Linked DNA regions of Homo sapiens: region 1 is linked to region 2. The links are contacts of gene promoters, found by promoter capture Hi-C in human tissues and cell types (Jung and others, 2019). All regions are on one chromosome and are shown on one strand. Each heading gives the region's core, a stretch centred on a gene start or on the middle of the fragment in contact. The rest is flanking DNA. Distances are from core to core; before and after follow the strand shown. Region 1 overlaps TAF5 (TATA-box binding protein associated factor 5). Region 2 holds the start of CALHM3 (calcium homeostasis modulator 3).

The links. Contacts are between HindIII fragments. The study calls those that stand out against the background at their distance.
Region 1: a fragment that was not itself captured here is called in contact with the fragment with the promoter of CALHM3 in region 2 in 2 of the 25 tissues and cell types used here (H1 embryonic stem cells and liver).

Annotation. Positions count from the first base shown.
Region 1 is chr10:103,379,377-103,383,965 of GRCh38, reverse strand. It overlaps TAF5 (TATA-box binding protein associated factor 5), which reads right to left. Exons shown (of 11, transcript NM_006951.5): 4 at 4,195-4,358; 5 at 3,947-4,082; 6 at 2,125-2,245; 7 at 599-728. Among named protein-coding and RNA genes, the nearest start is that of MIR1307, 13 kb to the left of the region's middle. The HindIII fragment of the contact is 4,253 bases long and covers 1-3,408 here.
Region 2 is chr10:103,476,658-103,481,149 of GRCh38, reverse strand. It overlaps CALHM3 (calcium homeostasis modulator 3), which reads left to right and starts at 1,910. Exons shown (of 3, transcript NM_001129742.2): 1 at 1,910-2,404. The coding sequence starts at 2,118. It overlaps NEURL1-AS1 (NEURL1 antisense RNA 1), which reads left to right. Exons shown (of 4, transcript NR_120675.1): 4 at 1,153-1,547. RefSeq lists enhancers at 3,352-4,246, 4,247-4,492. The HindIII fragment of the contact is 15,318 bases long and covers 1-4,492 here.

The sequences.
Region 1 (4,589 bases), core at 33-2,532, 97 kb after region 2:
AAAAAAAAAAAGGGAAATACTAAAGCTAATTTTTAAAACCAGTAAGCCCTGAAACTGTGCATTTTGATTCTATAAATTTGAGTATACAGGCCAGGCACAGTGGCTCACGCCTGTAATCCCAGCACTTTGGGAGGCTGAGGTGGGCAGATCACCTGAGGTTGAGAGTTCAAGACCAGCCTGACCAACATGGAGAAACCCCATCTCTAATAAAAAAATAAAATTAGCCAGGTGTGGTGGCGCATGCCTGTAATCCCAGCTACTCAGGAGGCTGAGCCAGGAGAATCGCTTGAACCCAGGAGGCGGAGGTTGCGGTAAGCCAAGATCACGCCATTGCACTCCAACCTGGGCAACAAGAGCGAAACTCTGTCTCAAAAAAAAAAAAAAAAAAGTGAGTATACATTAAATTGCTACCATGTACAAACACCAGGATTCAAAGATGAATTAGCAAATGGCAAGATTCTAAAAGATGATGAACGTCAGACAACCATGAGATTTTTATCAGAATTTTCCCAGCATTTGCATAATGTTTCCAGTAGTTAACTTTTATATAATTTCAATATAACATAGCAGTATTTAATTTTTATTGTTTGTATTTTACCTATCCGGACTGAAGCTGGCTCCGTAGACAGGCCCACTGTGACCATACAAAATCTTCAACTCACTTGCTGTTTTCTCATCCATGATTCTTTCTAAGACATCATCTGATTCTTTGTCTATAAGACTAAGATCTAAAATGGTCCAGAAATATTGATATTTTATAAGTACATTCATCAAAACTTTTAAAGTAATCATATCACAGTGCAGGAGAGGAATTAACATTTGAAAATTTCCTCCTATATACCAACCGCACTTTGCTAATCCCTCTAAATTAGGCAGTATCATCTCAGCGTGTAAGAGAAGAAAATGACGTTCAGAACAGATAATTTGCTAGAGTGCACACAGCTACTCAGTGTGGGAACCAGAACTGAAACTCAGTTTTGCCCACTATGCCACAGTGTTTCACAAAATGAAAACTATGGGCCAGGCATGGTGGCTCACACCTGTAGTCTCAGAATTTTGGTAGGCCAAGGCGGGCAGATTGCTTGAGCCCAGAGGAGTTCGAGACCAGCCTGGACAACATGGAGAAACCCTGTCTCTACAAAAAATAAAAAATTAGCCAGTGTGGTTGCACACACCTGTAGTCTCAGCTACTCAGGAGGCTGAAGTGGGAGGATCACTTCAGCCCAGGGATTAGAGGCTGCAGTGAGCCGTGATCACACCACTGCATTCTAGCCTGGGCAACAGAGTGAGACCCCATCTAAAAAAAATTTAAAATTAAAAAAAAAAAACCTATGGAAATATTGAAATAATTTAAAATATATTGTTTTATTTAAATAATATAGTTAGTAAAAAACTTTATTTCAGGCCGGGTGTGGAGGCAGGAAAATCGCTTGAACCAGGGAGGTGGAGGTTGCAGTGAGCCACCTATAATTCCAGCACTTTGGGAGGCCAGACAGGCGGATCACTTGAGGTCAGGAGTTCGAGACCAGCCTGGCCAACATGGCGAAACCCTATCTCTACTAAAAATACAAAAATTACCTGGGCATGGTGGTGGGCACCTGTAATCCCAGCTACTGGGGAGCTGGGGAGCTGACACAAGAAAATCCCTTGAACCTGGGAGGTAGAGGCTGTAGTGAGCCAAGACTGCGCCATTGCACTCTAGCCTGGGTGACAGGGCGAGACTCTGTCTCAAAAAAACAAAAAGTAAAAAACTTTCAAATAAAATCCTGACCTTATTTGTTCTTTTTAGCCATTTTTATGACTAAAACAGGAAGTACCATCCCTTATTTAAAGATTTTTTAAGATTTACAAGCAATCATAAAATGTTAGATTTTTAACTTTAAGTTTTTTAGCTTAATACTCACTCATTCTACAGATGAGAAAACTGAGACCTAAAGAAATTAAACCAGTCTAGCACCCCAGTCACTCCAAAGCTTTTTTCACTGTTGGGAATGTTAGAATCTTGAGTTAAAGTAAAATCAAGTGAATTTCTGTAAAGAACACAATCTCCTGTGTATTTTCCATGGAATCAAGATTGGTATAGACTAATGGCAAGTTCACATTCCAAAAGGTCATCTCAGTTACCTGATGCTTGTTTGACACTACGAAGCTTTTTGGGTGTTACCGACCACACTCTGACAGTTGAATCTGCAAAACCTCCAGCAATCAGACTAGAATCATCAGTGACATCCACTGCAGTGAGACCCTGCCAATAAAAGGGTTAGACTAAACAATACTATTTTAGGATATTTAGAGATAGGAAGCAAATGTTAATCATTTTCACACTATACTAAATATCTCCTCAATCCTCTATTTTAAGGAATATATAAAGACTTTTAAAATTCTTGATTTAAAATATTGGCCAAGCGCACTGGCTCATGCCTGTAATCCCAACAATTTGGGAGGCTGAGACAGGTGGATCACCTGAGGTTAGGAGTTCAAGACCAGCCTGGCCAACATGGTGAAACCCCATCTCTACTAAAAATACCAAAATTAGCCAAGCAGGGTGGTGGGCACCTGTAATCCCATCTACTTGTGAGGCTGACGCAAGAGAATCACTTGAACCCAGGAGGCAGAGGTTGCAGTGAGCCAAAATCGTGCCACTGCACTCCAGCCTGGGCGACAGAGTGAGACTCCATCTCAAAAAAAAAATAATAATAAAATAAAATACTAAGTTTGGCCGGGCGCGGGGGTTCATGCCTGTTATCACAGCACTTTAGGAGGCTGAGGCGGGTGGATTGCCTGAGCTCAGGAATTCAAGTCCAGCCTGGTCAACCTGGTGAAACCCCTTCTCTACTGAAAATACAAAAATTAGCTGGGCGTGGTGGCTCATGCCTATAATCCCAGCTACTCAGGAGGCTGAGGCAGGAGAATCACTTGAACTGGGAGGCGGAGGTTGCAGTGAGCCAAAATTGCACCACCGCACTCCAGCCTAGGTGTCAGAGCAAGACTCCATCTCAAAAAATGAAATTAAATTAAAATAATAAAATAAAATAAGGTTTATATGGCTGGGCACGGTGGCTCACGCCTGTAATCCCAGCACTTTGGGAGGCTGAGGCGGCCAGATCACTTGAGGTCAGGAGTTCAAGACCAGCCTGGGCAACACGGCAAAATCCTGTCTCTACTAAAAATACAAAAATTAGCCAGGCATGGTGGAGGGTGCCTGTAATCCCAGCTATTCAGGAGGCCGAGGCTGAGGCACAAGAATCGTTTGAACCCGGGAGGCAGAGGTTGCAGTGAGCTGAGATCTCACCTCTGCACTCCACCCTAGGTGACAGCACAAAACTCTGTCTCAAAAAAAAAAAAAAATTGATAAATAAGTTTACGTAAGTACTTAAACCAAGTTCAACAGAAATGAACTACAATTTGCTCCTCCTCAAAGGCTAGCAGAATTCTGATCGGTGAAACAAATGCCATTAAACATTGACTTCTATCTATTCTGTGCAGTATCCAATTCTCTCTTCCTGAATGCTGTCTTTAAATTGTATAAGAGTTTAGGGGCCACATGCGGTGGCTCATGCCTGTAATCCCAGCACTTTGGGAGGCTGAGGCAGGCGGATCACAAGGTCAGGAGATCGAGACCATCCTGGCTAACACGGTGAAACCCCATCTCTACTAAAAATACAAAAAATTAGCCGGGCATGGCGGTATGCGCCTGTAGTCCCAGCTGCTGGGGAAGCTGAGGCAGAAGAATGGCATGAACCTGGGAGGCGGACATTGCAGTGAGCTGAGATCGCGCCACTGCACTCCAGCTGGGCGACAGAGCGAGACTCTGTCTCAGAAAAAAAAAAAAAAGGAGTTTAAATAACGAAACTCCATTTTAGCTAATACATTTGTTTCTCTCTTAATGGTAAATCATCATCCTACATGACTCTCCAGGCAGAAATCGCCCAATTTTTTTACCAACCTGGTAAGCATTGAGAAATGTATAGAAACAAATGGAGGGTAAGCAGTCCGGCCCAAGGCGCACTCGTTTGGTGGTTTCTTTCATATTCATTATCTTATCCAACTTATCTGAATCTTTCAACTCAGGAAGAGGGATTCTGTGAAAGAAAAAGAGAGTCAAAATTACCTTTTGACTATTAACAAACTTGAACTCTATATAACATGTTGTCTTATACCTCCACACACAAGTTCCTGAAGTTTTTTCCTCACCTGTTCTGAGGTGGAGCATTGGGATCTTGTTTTTTGCTTTTGGATCCAATACTATCTTTTTTAGGCTTCTTCTTTTTAGGTTTTCCTTCTTCATTTTCTCCCTCTTCATCCTCGTCATCCAAAGGTACCTCAATTTCTGGTTCTTTTAATAAACCAAAAAATACCTACAAGTCAAAAGAGCCAACATTTTTAAAATTATTTATTCATTAATATACCCATTTTACATCTTGATAGGATAAATCACAATTACAAAATAGTAATTTACACTCTGAAGCAGGGTTCTGTATTTGTCTACCCAATAGCCATTCTCCCCTTTTTCCTTACTAACAGAACCCTGATTTTATTGGAGTAGCAATGTGCTCAGTTAAATCATTTCTGTTCCCAGGCTCCCTTTC
Region 2 (4,492 bases), core at 661-3,160:
CTGGCCTGTTTCTTTACTGAAGTATTTCCTGTAAATACCCGGCAAGGGTCAGCCCCGCTGCAGTCACTCAGCACCTGTTGCCCTGCAGGGCTCCAGGGACCCAGGCTGACCTGGTAGCTCTGTCTTACCTCTCAGAGGCTGGAGCTGTGAAAAGGTTGGCCTGGAGTCTTTGACCCAGTTTTCTTCAAAGTGTTCTTCCAGAAGCATTGTCTATTGTTTTCTGAACTCTCAAGGTTAGAGTGGCTGGGGACCCTTAGGACACTCTATCCCTCCCTGAGACTAGAATGGGATTGAGGGGTGCTCATGACCCTCCCAGCCCAGTTAGCTCCCCGCCTGCTCCACACCAGCCCTGCTGGTTCAGGGTCACGAAGCCTGGCCTTGGGCCAGGACAGTCCCCTTTTCTGGTCAGCAGCCCAGTGGGTGACTAAGGCTGAAAGGCACAGATGGAGGATCCCAGCTTCCTCCCTGGCTCTGTCCCCGCCAGGGTATGTGACCTCCAACAGCCCCTCTGGGACTGTACCCACCTGAAGTTGTGGTGGTCCTCCTGGCTTGAAGGGTTTCTCACCCCTGCCCCGCCCTCTCCTCCGCTCAGAGTCAGACTCACAGGGCCACTGGTGGCTCTCCCCATCTTCTCCAGTGCCTCATTTCCCTCACACAGGGAAATCTGTCTCATAGGACCTAGAGTAACGTACAAATATGGAAAATAAAAATACTAAGTGGCCAGGCTCAGTGGCTCATGCCTGTAATCCCAGCACTTTGGAAGGCCAAGGGGGCCAAATCACCTGAGGTCAGGAGTTCGAGACCGGCCTGACCAACATGGCAAAACCCCTGTCTCTACTAAAAATACAAAAATTAGCTGGGCGTGGTGGTGGGTGCCTGTAATCCCAGCTACTTGGAAGCTGAGGCAGGAGAATCACTTGAACCCGGGAGGCAGAGGCTGCAGTGAACCAAGATCGTGCCACTGCACTCCAGCCTGGGTGACAGAACAAGACTCTATCTCATAATAATAATAATAATAAGTAAGACCCAGGTTTCTGTCTGTCTTCATCAGAAGTACAGACCACACAGATGGTTACGAAATTTGCAAGACTTATTTGGGATGATCTGACTTACAATATGGGCCAAGTGACCTTTACAAAATTCGTTTTGCAGGTTTCAGGGGTCCCTCAAACATCTGGGCTGTCATCCTTCGGAGAGACTGGAACTGAGACACAAGGAGAGACCTAGTGATGTGGGAGAGTTAGGAGAAGAAGCAGTGATTTCAAACGCATGCCCCTCACACGGAAGAAGGGCAGGGGGAAAGCCATGCAGGTGTGGGCGTGGCACTTGAGCAGCCTCTCCCATGGGCACCCAGTGGTTAATGCACAATGTTTAGCACGTCGCCCAGGGAGGCCATCCCCTTCCGCTACCCCTTTCATGGCAAATGCTGAAACATCGTTGAAGACTCCTCTCAAGGGTCTCCTCTTCCAGGAAGCCTTCGGTCAGGAATAGGTGCCCCTTCTGGCTCCTCCTAGCCTGAAAGCCAACATGAAATCTCCCTGGGCTGAGCTGAGTCGTCATATTTTGTTGTTGTTGTTGCTGTTGTTTTACTATGCCTGTGAGACAAGTTCAGAGTCATGCTTTTGATCAAGACCAGAAAATATACTACCTTGGCTCCATCAGCATCTTTTCCTCACCACACCCAGAATTTGCCTGTCCCCCGAAGGAAGCTCCAACGGCTGTCAAGCCTGAGCATCCAGACCGTAAAGCAAAGAGAAATGGGCCGGGAGGAATGGAGTGACAGGGCGGGGCCCATTTGCCTAGAGGTGCTTTGGGCTGCCCGGTCACAGAGGGTGACTCACTCCCCCAGACAGGAGGGGAGTGGCACCAGGGGACCATTGGGCTGGGCAGGGGAGCCTTTGTGGTGAGAGCCTGTCCCTGCCTTAAGTGCCTACTGGATCCCGGGAGCCTGGGCTGGGGCCTGGGCACTGCTTCCTCCTTGGCCCCTCAGGCCCTTGGAAGCAGAGAGAGAACCTCTTGCAGATCCCAGGCTCGTCCCCAGCACAGCAGACACCAGGAAGGTGGCCAGAGCCTCACTGAGCCGAACCGACGGCCGCCCACCCACCCAGGCTGGAGCCATGGATAAATTCCGCATGCTCTTCCAGCACTTCCAGTCAAGCTCGGAGTCGGTGATGAATGGCATCTGCCTGCTGCTGGCTGCGGTCACCGTCAAGCTGTACTCCTCCTTTGACTTCAACTGTCCCTGCCTGGTGCACTACAATGCACTCTACGGCCTGGGCCTGCTGCTGACGCCCCCGCTCGCCCTGTTTCTCTGCGGCCTCCTCGCCAACCGGCAGTCTGTGGTGATGGTCGAGGAGTGGCGCCGGCCCGCAGGGCACCGGAGGAAGGACCCAGGCATCATCAGGTGCGGTCCCACACCACTCAGTGACCCATGAGCTTTGCCAGGGGCTCCCCAGCCACCCCACAGGCACTGTCAAGTGCACCCCCAGACCCCAACCATTCTCATTATCAGGGGATTCTCCACCCACCCTACAGGTACTGCCAGGTGCGCCCTCTCCTTTCCCCAACTAGGAATTATCGGCTCACAGAGAGCCACTTGCCAGTTTCCACTCTGGAAACATATTTCTGTTCCTATCGTTTGTCACCTTTCCGTGGCCAGTGCTGTAAACATAGGAATGACACAGGATTCCCAATTACCCAGGCCACTCTAGGGGCTGCGGGAAAACTTCCTCTTTGCCCTCTGAAGCTCTGCTGAAAATCAACTGACAAAAGGCAGATTAATAAGAGAAAAGGCATACAAATTTATTTGATTACCGTTTTATGTGCCACAGAACCTTCAGAATAAAGACCTAAAGATACAGAGGAAATGGTTCATTTTTATGCTTAGGTTCAACAAGGTTTGGATAGCCACGCAGAAATAGAATTGGATTAAAAAAGGGATGAACTGATGTTATAGACGGAGTGGGGAAACTCAGCAAGGCCATCTAGGTTCTTCTTGGCCTCTCTATACAGTGTTCCTTTCTCCCAGACACGGGGCAGGACCCTCTCTAGAAGGGAGTCTTATGATCTACAATGAAACTAGGTAGGTCAGATCATTTCTTTACGGCCAGTTTTCAGACAGAAAGGCGGGGGGAAATTAGAATCATATTTTTAGGTTTTATGGTGGCAGCTTTGGAGAAAAGGAGTTCTGGTTTCTATGACCCACCTTGGGGAAGATGGATTCTAGTTTCTATGGCTAGCCTTGGGGGAAAATAAGGAGCCAGAGATTGGGTGGGGGGGCCAGGCGCGGTGGCTCTCACCCGTAATCCCAGCACTTTGGGAGGTCGAGGCGAGTGGATCACCTGAGGTCAGGAGTTCGAGACCACTCTGGCCAACATGGCAAAACCCCCATCTCTACTAAAAAATATAAAAAATTAGCTGGGCGTGGTGTTGGGCACCTGTGGTCCCAGCTACTCAGGAGGCTGAGGAAGGAGAATCGCTTGAACCTGGGAGGCAGAGGTTGCAGTGAGCTGAAATCGTGCCACTGCACTCCAGCCTGTGCGACAGAGCAAGACTCAAAAAAGACAAAAAAAGAAAAGAAAATGCTAAAGCCACCACTGCCTAGAACATATTTACAGCTCACACTGGGTAGGCCATGCACGCACACACCTGGCACACACCATTGGATGTTTTGTGTACAATCCAATTCAGAAACAACATCTGCATCCGGTGCACCCTCAGCCTCTGTTCCATGTTCTCAGGGATCACATCTCCCTGCAATTCAGCTGTGCAGGGTGGGTCACAGGCACTGGGTGTGTCCTTGGCCTTTTCCTCTGGGGTCCAGTGGGCACAGCTCCACTGGGCTCCTGTCCTGTGGCCAATACCCAGTCGAGGTCACTACAGGCAGGGGCAGAGTTGATCTGGAAAGGCGCCTGAGGCCGGTCAGAGGGTGGGCTCCTGGGATGCCTTGTGGGTAGGGGTGTTAGAGGTGCTGCTTTTGGAGGGTTACTGGGCAGGGCTGTCTTAGCTTAGGCTCTCCTCCAAAAGCAGGCTCTGAAAGAATGTGATAATGAGTGGGCAACTGGGGCTTAATCCTTCAGGGGACCCCCTAAGGGCATGCATAGAACACATCTCAGAATTTTCCCACTGAGGATTTAAGAAGCTGGGATATTTATCCACAAGGCCCCATCCCTCTGGGGTTGAAGGTTGATTTGGGGGTTAACTTTTCAGTGCTTCCAGCCTACCCCTCTCTGGAGCAAAAAATCCTCCAAAGCCCCAGGGGCAGAACAATGCAGATGCTTGAGGTAGGAGGCCCTCAGGCCCTCCAGGTGAATAGAACCAGCCACTGCACCCACAGATGCCTCTGGCATGGGCAGGGCACCAGCAGTGTCTGCTGTAAGGCCTAGGGCAAGAGGAATACCAAGTCCTCAGTGCTCCAGTCCTGGGGATCCCAGGGGCCCCTGCCCTCCTTTCTGCCTGTCTCTGTCACTGGGACCTCTACACTGGGAGCTGC